3 separate regions of the Homo sapiens genome follow, and all the other regions are linked to region 2. Evidence: promoter capture Hi-C in 16 types of primary human blood cells and fetal thymus (Javierre and others, 2016). All regions are on one chromosome and are shown on one strand. Each heading gives the region's core, a stretch centred on a gene start or on the middle of the fragment in contact. The rest is flanking DNA. Distances are from core to core; before and after follow the strand shown. Region 1 overlaps ZNF709 (zinc finger protein 709). Region 2 holds the start of ZNF625-ZNF20 (ZNF625-ZNF20 readthrough (NMD candidate)). Region 3 has its middle 11 kb from the start of ZNF439.

Region 1 (3,734 bases), core at 1,108-3,607, 320 kb after region 2:
TTTAAAGTGACTATAGCTACCATAACTTGTAAAATGGACACTGAATATTAAAAAGATGTAAATCCTGGCCAGGCACAGTGGCTAACACCTGTAATCCCAGCACTTTGGGAGGCTGAGGCAGGCAGATCACCTGAGGTCGGGAGTTGGACACCAGCCTGTCCAAAGTGACAAAACCCTGTTTCTACTAAAAATACAAAAATTAGCCGGGCATGGTGGTGGGCACCTGTAGTCCCAGCTACTTGGGAGGCTGAGGCAGAAGAATCGCTTGAACCCAGGATGCGGAGGTTGCAGTGAGCCAAGATCGCACCACTGTACTCCAGCCTGGGCAACAGAGTGAGATTCCGTCTTAAAAAAAAAAAAAAAAAAAAAAAAATCTAAGCATCTACATGAGGAAAGCAAGAAAATATGAGCAAATTAAACCCAAAGTAAGCACACAACAGAAGAAATAGTAAAAAGAGAAATTAAACAAAACCAAAGGTGTTTCTTTGAAAAGATCAATATATTTGATAAATGTATGGTTAAGCTAACTGAAAAACAGAGAACAGAAATTACTAATATCACAAATGTAAGTGGGAAAAATAAAAATGAAAAAGCTATGGGCAAAATCCAACATGCATTTATGATAAGAAACTGGAGATAGACTTTCCTCTTTTTGAGAAGCAGTATTTATAGGAAACCTGCAGCTAATATCATATTTAATAGTGAGAAAATAGATGCTTTCCTGGTAAGATGAGGAAATGGGCAAAGATGTCCCCTCTTACCACTCCTACTCAACAGATTGTACTCAAAGTGTAACTAATGAGAGGAGAGGGGAGGAGAGGAGAGAAGAGATATAGATTGGGAACAAAGAAATATCACTGTCTTTGTCGCATGTGACATGATTGTCTAAGTAGAAAATCTCAAAGAATCCACAACAAACTCCTCAAACTAGAGGTTGAGGATATAATCTTAATATACAAAAGTCAATTGCCTTCTTACAGACTCACATTAGTATAGTATAGACTCACTGAGTCATCTGATTTTCAACAAATGACCAACAGCAATTCAATGAAAAAAGATAGCCTTTTTCAACAAACAGTGTTGGAAAAACTGAACATCCACATGCAAAACACAATGAAAAAAACACAAATCTAGAAACAGACGTTACACCTTAAACAAAAACTGGCTCAAAATGGATCACAGAACTAAATGTAAAATCTAGGCCAGGAGCAGTGGCTCATGCCTGTAATCCCAGCACTCTGGGAGGCCATGGCAGGAGGATAGCTTGAAGTCAGGAGTTTGAGACCAGCCTGGGCAACTAAGTAGGACCCCATCTCTACAAAAAATACAAAAATTAGCCAGGTGTGGTGGTGCACGCTTGTAGTCCCACCTACTCAGGAGGCTGAAGTGGGAGGAGTGCTTGAGCCCAGGAGGTTGAGGCTGCAGTGAGCCAAGATTGCACTACTGCACTCTGGCCTGGGCAAGAGGGAGAACTTGCCTCAAAAAAAAAAAAAAAAGTAAAGTTATAGGATACTAAAAGTTAATGAAGAAAATCTAGGTGACCCTGGGTTTGGTGACAAATGTTTAGATATAAGCAAAATCCATACAAAATAAATCAGTAAGTTTGACTTCATTAAAATGCAAAAGCTCCTTCTCTATGAAAGCTCTGTGTTAAGAGAATGAAAAAGACTCTAGAGCCTTTTGCGGTAGGGGGACCCACTTAAGGTGGGCCAATTTGCAATTAACAGCATAAAGTGGTTAAGTAAAATTTATAAACAAGGAATATGTTGCCTCCAGAACATCAAAAGAACCTAGAAGATGCTGTGGGTAGTCAGAGGGACAATAGCTATTTCATAGTAGTGTCAGGGATGGAGCGGCCCTCCTTTTACCAAATGGTTTTTAGGAACTTAACCAAAACATAAAGGTCTCTTATTTTATATATGGGGCAATGGACTTTTTGTAAGCTCTATTTTTTTTTTCAGTATTTATGTGTCCTGAATGAATGCCAAAACAATGTCCTCAGACAAGGCTGTCATTAATGTAATATCATACCTGTGTTCTAGAGAAAGGTGGATGCAGTTCAGATTTTGCCTGCAAAGACTGTGCAACAGCAAGGCTGTTGAGGTTCCCTTGGGAAACTAGGTAAAGTTATATAATTAGCCTGTGAGATGGTGAAATCTGTGAGATCAGCTGGATGGTGTCAGTAATTTCCATGTTGGATATTGGTATAGGGGCTTAATGGGTGGGACCACAGCATTAAGGTTATGGTAATCCATTGTGGGTTGCCATTCATTCTCTCCAAGTTTAAGAAAGGCCAAACTGTACTTTTAAAACGAGAAGCACGGGGAATAATCACTTCCTCACTAAACAAGTTTTACATAATACTTTTCAACCCTTCAAGGCCCTGTTCAATTTATATTGAGCCATCATAACTAATTTAACTGGGGAGTAAGTTCCACAGGGTCTCATTCTGTCAAGCCAGTTTGTAAGTGCCAAAGATTTAATTTAAATTTCACTTATGACTCACTGGTTTAGAGTTTACCTGTTCATTCTGGCGTATTTTAGGACACTGGGTGCCATGAACATGGGGAATTTAGGCACAGTTATGATGGCTAAGATGAGACATACTTATTTGTCTTCTATTTTATATTCAGTAACTCCCTTAAGATTATCAGGGGATACCTTGCTTAAATTTTAGTGGGTCTCCCAGGTATAACCATAATTTGAGCCCTTGTATTGGCTAATCCTATAGTGTGTTAATTAATACATTACATAAGATGTTAAAATTAATACAGAACCTATGATATAGAGGCTCTTTTATCTTTTTTGCCGTCTAAATTCCTTTAGTCTATTTGGAATTTCCAATTGGGTCAAATTGTGGACCTCTTTTTCAGCATTTTTTTCTTTTGTTCCTTTCCTTCCTAACATGTTTGTTTTGTTTTTGTTTTTGTCCCTGGATATATTTTGACAGCAAAATCCTCTCTACAGGGGAGGGGTGTTCTTTTCCCTCCAGAGAGCCACAAATCACTATTATCAGGCTTAGGGGCCTGTCCCTCATGGTTGCTTTATAAAGTTTAAGCACCTGGGCCTTAAGCTGGCTTTGAATGAACCCTTTGCAATGCTGCAGAGGAAACATGAGTGTGCCCTATAATCCTGAGGGTCAGCATCCTTGCTGCAATAGAGCAACAGCAGCAACACTTAAGGGTCCTTGGGAGCCCTGTGCTATTAGGAGTGTGGACTCGGCCCACCATCTAACAGCTGCCTTTCCCCCTCTCTTTTGTCTCTTTTTCAAAAATGACTGCTCTGGCAGGTAGTCTTTCCCATGAGCACCTTGTATGCCAGGTCAGCAGCAGTCACAGCTTCACTCTAAAACACACAGATAAGTCCAGGCCAAGAAACACTACCCAGGACCACTTTAAGGAGTATCAAATCTCATATTCCTCTTCAAAAAAGCCAAGGAATTATCAAAACGGCCAACTCCAGTTGGCTAAACATAGAACCCAGACTTGGCAGGGCTCAACATGCAGCACAGAGTAGCACAACTCAAAGTAGTAGCTTCCCAGAAAGCAGCAGCTGAAAGTGCATGCTGGCCATCAGGCAACAGAGCAGGTAGCAATTCAGTGCAAGAGAAGACAGACCCATGGGGTGACAGTCAATGTCTGAACACCATGCTCATGGTAACAATTCCTGTGTCGTTCCAATGTTGACACTAATAACAGCGTGGAGAACAGACACCAAAGGGTATGAAAAGACTC
Region 2 (4,011 bases), core at 955-3,454:
TAAGCCCATTTCCCTAGAGTCTGTATTTTCTTGAATGGCAATTCTCAGATTTTCACTTAAATAATCTCCTTATAATAGGAATCTGATCATTTCAATCATTTAAGGTAGAAAAATCCAAACAAGGCGACTACATCACTGTAACCAATAAAGTATTTTTTGATTTTTATTCTAATGCACCATATAAAAGCCTATCCTTCAACCTGTAAACTAAAAATAAAAACCTAAGCTCCCCATCCCACCCCAATCAAGTCAACTGAGTGGCTCTTTACCAAGGGGAGGCCCCCCAAAAACCTGAAAGTTCCCAGTTACATTAGTAAGGGAGATCAGACACTCCATACTCCCTTCTGGAGTTTAGACACAGCAACTGACCCACATTCATATTAAAATAGACATAAGACCTGCAAAGAGGCCGGGCACAGTGGCTCAGTCCTGTAATCCTAGCACTTTGGGAGGCGGAGGGAGGCGGAGGCAGGCGGATTATTTGAGGTCAGGAGTTTGAGACCAGCTTGGCCAACATGGTGAAACCCCATCTCTACTAAAAATACAGAAATTAGCCGGGTATGGTGGCGTGCACCTGTAATTCCAGCTACTTGGGAGGCTGAGGCAGGAGAATTGCTTGAACCTAGGAGGCGGAGGTTGCCGTAAGCCGAGATTGCGCCACTGCACTCCAGCCTGGGCGAGAGTGAGGCTCCATCTCAAAAAAAAAAAAAAACCTGCAAAGAAACCCTTTGTACCAATAAATACTAAATTGCAAACAAGACCTAAGGCCATGCAAGGCAAGGGTAAAGTCACGCCTTAGAATTCATAAAATCTAGTGAAACATATCTGTTTTTTGGTGGGGATGGAATCACGTGGCAGGTAACAGACTCCCTTCACTTAAACATTCCTTCCTACCCCTTTCAAATTTTAGACACAACTTCACACTCTCAGCCAACTGCCAACTACAGAATCCCTCAACCACCTGTGCCTTCTAAGCCCCGCTTCTACGTGTCCTGCCCTGTCAGCCTTCCATGCCTTGATTGATCTTTTCCCTGCAATTCCTGTCTCGCTGAAATGAATAAAACCAAACTGCCATCGAACCTCCTGGGGACCACTTACTCGAGGCTACATGCGGTTGTTTCCCTTGGTCACGTTCTCTCATATTCGGCGTAGAACATAGTTCAAGTTATTTTGCAGAGTTTTGCTCTTTCCGTTATCAAACTGCAAGCCATGACTGGGTGTTTCTCATTCAGGAAACATTTCTCATTCATTTTTTTCAAACTCCTATTCTGAGAAGCAAAACTCTTTAATTTTTAAGAGGACTCAGTTTAGTTTGTTGCTGTTGTTTTTGTTTTGTTTTGTTTGAGACAGGGTCTCGCTCAGTCGCCCAGGCTGGAGTGCAGTGGCGCGATCTCGGCTCACTGCAGTCCCAATCTCCTCCCTCAAGCGATCCTCCCACCTCAGCCCCCCAGTAGCTGGGATTACAGGTGGGCGGCACCACGCCCGGCTCATTTTTTAAAAATTTATTTTTAATAGAAACTAGGGTCTCGGTATGTTGCCTAGGCTGGTCTCGAATTTCTGGGCTGAAGCAATCCCCCCGCCTCAACCTGCCAGGCGTGACCCACTGCGCCTGGCCTTCAATTTAGTTTTTCAGGAAAAAAGGGGGGACTGGGGACCCCGCAGCCCACCGCTCCTCCCACACGAACCACACACCCGAGGCAGGATTGCCTCCATGACCCTCCCGTGGTCTCCGCACAATCTGGGGAGACGCGGGACTACGGGCGCGGAGCTCCCCAGAGAGGGCTCCGGGGCCGGGGCCAGGGCCGGGGTCGCAGTCGCAGCGCAGAGACGGGACAGGACGCCTGGGGTCCCGGCTGCCGGCCCAACCCCACCCTGCGGCCGAAGGGACCGAGGGCCGAGCTACGCCAGGGGGACTCCGCTCTGCAGACCCGAAGTCGCTGCAGGAAGGCCTGGGTCCTGCTAGAGCCGGTTCGAGCCGGTTCCTCCCGGCCCCTCCCCCGTCTCGGGACCCCCGGCCCCGCACACTCACCATTTCCCGGCTTCCAGGTGTCCTGGCCTCCTCTCCACGGATCCCTCTAACAGTCCAGTCACAGTGCGGGCGATGGAGCGACAGAAGCTATGGCGGAGGCACCTGGTCCCTCTCGGGGCCGGAAAACCGAGATCCCGACCTCCCTTTGGTGCAAGACGCCTGGGAGTCAGGAAAGCGGGAATGCGGCCTCCCCTTCCCCGGATGGACAGTTGGCAGGACCCCGCCCCAGCGCCCCTGATTGGATGAGGCTCCAGTCCCCGTCCCATCGGTCCTGAGTGACAGCGGAAGCCCTGGGTAACAAGGCCCGGCAGAACCGAAATGACCTGTTCCAACCACAGATTATCTAAGCGAGCTCCCTCCCTGCGTCTTGCTCTTTGGGTATTTGCATTTCAGCCAAATTTGCTCCGAATTGCTAGAGGGGGTACCGTTGTCTTCCTCACTCAATGGGCTGTCCCTGCTCCTTTGTCTTGCACAGGAAATTCCAGACTCAGAGTCCAGTGGAGGTGAAGGAAATTAAAATATTTTACGCCAAAATATATTTATTTGACAGATTTTGAAATGGCTGTGGCTCGGCCGCAAAAAAAAGTGGACTGGCAAAGCTGTCTTTGGAGGGGGGGAATTTGCATCTGCAGAGAATCTCCATTGATGAAACCATGCCCTCTCCCCCTTTATTTCTTTCCCTTTATCCAAGCTAGAAGAGATTGTGACCTGAACACAGGCAGGGTGCGGTGGTTCACGCCTGTAATCCTAGCACTTTGGGAGGCCAAGACTGGAGGATCCCTTAAAGTAAAGAGTTAAAGACCAACTTGGTCAACACAAGAATACCCCTGTTTTGTTGTTTTTTTTTTTTAATTTTTATTTATTAAACTTTAAGTTCTAGGGTACATGCGCACAATGTGCAGGTTTGTTACATATGTATACATGCGCCATGTTGGTGTGCTGTACCCATTAACTCGTCATTTACATTAGGTATATCTCCTAATGTTATCCCTCCCACATCCCCCCACCCTAGACCCCTGTTTTTATTATTTAAAAATCTTTACGGCCGGGAGCGGTGGCTCACGCCTATAATCCCAGCACTTTGGGAGGCCGACGCGGGCGGATCACGAGGTCAGGAAATCAAGACCATCCTGGCTAACACGGAGAAGCCCCGTCTCTACTAAAAATACAAAAAATTAGTCGGGTGCGGTGGCGGGCGCCTATAGTCCCAGCTACTCGGGAGGCTGAGGCAGGAGAATGGCGTGAACCCGGGAGGCGGAGCTTGCAGTGAGCCGAGATTGCGCCACTGCACTCCAGCCTGGGCGACAGGGCTAGACTGTCTCAAAAAAAAAAAAGAAAGAAAAAGAAAAAGAAAATCTGTGAAGGTCAGAATTAGAGCAAGACCCATTTGGGATGCCTCCTGGAGAAAGGGTTTATGAATTTTTATTTATTATTTTATTTTATTGTATTTATTATCATTTTTTTTGAGACGGAGTCTCGCTCTGTCGTCCGGGCTGGAGTGCAGTGGCGCAATCTCGGCTCACTGCAAGCTCCGCCTCCCGCCCGGGTTCATGCCATTCTCCTGCCTCAACCTCCCAAGTAGCTGGGACTACAGGCGCCTGCCACCACGCCCGGCTAATTTTTTGTATTTTTAGTAGAGACGGGGTTTCACCGTGTTAGCCAGGATTGTCTCGATCTCCTGACCTCGTGATCCGTCCGCCTCGGCTTCCCAAAGTGCTGGGATTACAGGCGTGAGCCACCGCGCCCTGCGGGTTTATGAATTTAACAGTAAATTTAGCTTAAACTGACTCAAGTCGAGAGCTTCCTGTTGGTGAAAATGAAGGTCTTAAAGGAGAGAATAATTTCTAAACTGAGGAGGGGACAGAAGGGCATTTCAAACTCCCAGATAAATCCTTAATTTTCTCTGCCTCATCATCTGGGACTGACCCGCCCTGGGGGGCTCCATTTCAGCAGTCACAGTTTGGCTTCCAAGCTTGGAAATA
Region 3 (3,641 bases), core at 1,011-3,510, 320 kb before region 2:
TGCCTGTAATCCCAGCTAATCAGGATGCTGAGGCAGGAGAATGGCTTGAGCCTGGAGACAGAGGTTACAGTGAACTGAGATCACACCATTGCACTCTCCAGCCTAGTCGACACAGCGAGACTCTGTCTCCAGAAGAAAAAAAGAAAGAGTTGGATGCACCTGAATCCAACCCCTGCCTCATCCTTCTCCCTTGAAGGCCAAATACACCCTGATACTTTTCACCAAAGAGTAGAAACAACACCATTCACTTGACCCCAAATGTGACTTTCCACAGGATGCAAACACAGTGTTGGAATGGCCAATGACAATGACAATGAAAATGCAGGCTGAGGGTGATGAACAGGACACACTGGAGAGCCTGACATCGGCCTAGACTATGGGGGTGTCTTGATGCTTCACAAAGAGCCCAAGGAGCACCCCAAAGAGGACACTGGAGCACAGGCCCAAAGGGTGTTCACATGCCAGGAAGGCCACTAATTTTGAAAGTCAGGGACATTGGTGCCTGCTTGAGTCCTGATGCTTTATCTATAACATATGCTTTTCTGCATCTGGTTAGACAAGGAAATCTGAAATTTTTGTTTCAGCATTTAGAAATAAGTTATTTAAGCAATCCTCACACTCATGGTTTATTCTGGAACTACCTTCAGACACACAGCTACAGATAGGGTATATAATGAGTATTTCCAAGGCTACACTCTGTAGGAAAAAACTTCATGAAGTCAGTGGGACCCTCTCATGGGAGGGTTTTAAGACCCACAATCAAAAAGGTGGGGAAACATTAGAGTGGAAGGAGGGCAGCAGAAGGTCAAGGACTTTCCCGGAGGCCTAACATACCCAACATTATTACCCTAGATGAAAACCAAATACATATCCTAACACCACATACTCTCTTCAATGTTTAACAGACAAAATGAAATGTATTCAAAGCTAAGCTTCCAGAATTCCACTTTACGCTATTAATGATGTTTTAATATCCCTCAATGTGTTGATATTAGGACATTTTTAAATATGAATACCATTTTCTGGTTATATATGGAAAATATCTTGATTTCTGAGATACAAAAATGCTCATTTTTAGATATACATGGTCTTGCACTTTTTTTATAAAATAAGGTGAAAAGACAGGAAAAATTTTTTCAGATCATGGAACTTGGATTAATAGGAGAAGAGTCATACAAATTTATTTAACATGTATATATGGGAGCCTTCAGAATGAAGACCCACCCAACAATAAGACAAAAAAGCTTATATTACCATTCTGAGGCCAAGAAAGAATGCAGACTTGGCTGGCCAAAAAATCCCGGGTTTGGTGGGTAAGTCAGGTTTAATGGCAAGACAGATTAGGGAAGAGGAAAGGAAGAAGCTTACCTCCTGTGTAGCTAAGGAGACCTTGTTATGTAGATGAAGGCTCCCTCATAGAGAATAGGTGGGAAATGCTGCTTTTCAGACTTTTATTTAGACTTTTAAGTAATAGGGACAGGATTATGCTATGTTGCCCAGGCTGTTATCTAATTCTTTTTCTCAAGCAATCCTCCCAGCTCAGTCTCCGAAAGTGCTAGGATTACAAGCATGAGCCGCCATACCCAGACAGGGTTTGTTCCCTTGTAAAGAATTATTTGTTGCTGGACACAGTGGCTCACAGAGGCCAAGGAAGGAGGATCACTTGAGCCCAGGAGCTCAAGACCTGCCATGGCAACATGACAAAACCTCTTCTCTACAAAAAATACAAAAAATTAGCTGGATATGGTGGCACGTACCTGTACTCCCAGCTATCCAGGAGGCTGAGGCAGAAGGATAACCTGAGCCTGGGAGATTGATGCTGCAGTGAACTGTGATTGCAGCACTGCACTCCGGCCTGGGCCACAGAGTGAGAGCCCTTCTAAAAAAAAAAAAAATATATATATATATATATATATATTTGTTCACTTATTGCAGCTTCAGATTTTTAAAATTAATTGTAAATTGCATTTTCACTACAGCTGGAAAAATAAGAAAATTTTGCACAGAGCCAAGATAAAAATAGATGTCAGAAATAAATCATTAGTCTTATATAGCATTTGTTTCAAAAAAAAAATTTTTTTTTTTTGAGACAAAGTCTCGCTCTCTCACCCAGGCTGGAATGCATTGGTGTGATCTCGGGGCATTGCAACCTCTGCCTCCTGGGTTCAAGTGATTCTCCTGCCTCAGCCTCCTGAGTAGCTGGGATCACAGGCACGTGCCACCACACCTGGCTAATTTTTGTATTTTTAGTAGAGATGGGGTTTCACGATATTGGCCAAGCTGGTCTCGAACTCCTGGCCTTGTTATCCACAAGCCTTGGCCTCCCAAAGTGCTGGGATTACAGGCGTGAGCCACCGCACCCAGTCTCAAAATTCTTAATTTTTTTCTTCTTCAGATGTGGTGTAGTACATTTCTTAAGTCTGTCCTTTTTTGTGGATGATTTCTTTATTTCTTTTTCTTTCTTTCTTTCCTTTTTTTTTTTTTAAGATAGGGTCTGGCTTTGTTGCCCAGACTGGGATGAGGTAGCACAATCTCAGCTCACTGCAATCTCCATCTTCCAGGCACAAGCTATCCTCCCACCTCAGCCTCCGTAGTAGCTGAGACCACAGGCACACACCACTACACCCAAAGTGCTGGTATTACAAGTTTGAGCCACAGTGCATGGCCATTTTTGGATGATTTGTAACAGAGTTTCAGGGCATAGCGTTGAGAATGCTGATTGGGAAAAGAAATAGAGAAAATCTTTTATTACAGCTTGAGAAAATGAATAATCTTCCACAATAAAGTATAGTAGATAAATTGGTGAATTACAAAGATTCAGCAAAATACCAGTCCTCCTTTGCAGGTTGGGGAACTTGTAATGGTGGATAACTCTTCTTCTTCCTGTTATCTGTGGGGTAAGACCTGGCTGGCAACTGTTGTCATATGTTTGTGTTCACATATGATTAATGTGTAGTATGTGCTTTGTTATCATGGAAATAATAATGAAATAATATTGTGCACCTTAATAAGATAATAAGATTCAGAGAATATGATTAAATGCTGAGTTTATCTGAGCACATAGTTTGAGGATAGCCACTGGGGAAACAGATATCCTGAAGAGTGGGGTCAGTGCTCCAACACGGGGAATTTGAGTCTTCTCTTCTATAGGGCAAAATGAAGCTTAACAGGGTGACATTTTCCATACAAGGCCGGTGCACACATTTCAGTGATTTGATAGGTTGCAGCTACCAAATTTCAAGGATGATTGCTTTAACTTTTTTTTTTGGATGGAGTCTTGTTCGGTCGCCCAGGCTGGAGTGCAATGGCGCAATCTCAGCTCACTGCAACCTCCACCTCCCGGGTTCAAGCAATTCTCCTGCCTCAGACTCCTGAGTAGCTGGGATTACAGGCACGTGCCACCATGCCCGGCTAATTTTAGTATTTTTAGTAAAGACGGAGTTCACCATGTTGGTCAGGCTGGTCTCAAACTCCTGACCTCATGATCCGCCTGCCTCGGCCTCCCAAAGTGCTGGGATTACAGGTGTGAGCCACTGCAGCCGGCCTGCTTTAACTTTTTGTAAGGAGGGGTAGTGGTCTCAAAAGGATCCTACCTCTGGCACTTCTCTGTCTTTTCTAATCATTTACAGCCTAAGAACAAG

What was found. Contacts are between HindIII fragments. The CHiCAGO score rates a contact against its expected background, and 5 or more counts as called.
Region 1: a contact is called between a fragment that was not itself captured here and the fragment with the promoter of ZNF625-ZNF20 in region 2, in 1 of 17 cell types (erythroblasts). The highest score is 6.6, in erythroblasts.
Region 3: a fragment that was not itself captured here is called in contact with the fragment with the promoter of ZNF625-ZNF20 in region 2 in 2 of 17 cell types (fetal thymus and M2 macrophages); the score reaches 5.6 in fetal thymus.

Annotation. Positions count from the first base shown.
Region 1 is chr19:12,474,910-12,478,643 of GRCh38, forward strand. The region is part of intron 1 of ZNF709 (zinc finger protein 709); the gene reads right to left. Among named protein-coding and RNA genes, the nearest start is that of ZNF709, 8.0 kb to the right of the region's middle. The HindIII fragment of the contact is 6,195 bases long and covers 1-3,734 here.
Region 2 is chr19:12,154,527-12,158,537 of GRCh38, forward strand. ZNF625-ZNF20 (ZNF625-ZNF20 readthrough (NMD candidate)) reads right to left here and starts at 2,205. Exons shown (of 8, transcript NR_037802.1): 1 at 2,030-2,205. It overlaps ZNF625 (zinc finger protein 625), which reads right to left and starts at 2,208. Exons shown (of 4, transcript NM_145233.4): 1 at 2,030-2,208. The coding sequence starts at 2,032. RefSeq lists a silencer at 1,725-1,894 and enhancers at 1,871-2,562, 2,125-2,234. The HindIII fragment of the contact is 6,672 bases long and covers 1-3,999 here.
Region 3 is chr19:11,836,186-11,839,826 of GRCh38, forward strand. It overlaps the pseudogene VN2R13P. Among named protein-coding and RNA genes, the nearest start is that of ZNF439, 11 kb to the right of the region's middle. The HindIII fragment of the contact is 1,799 bases long and covers 1,362-3,160 here.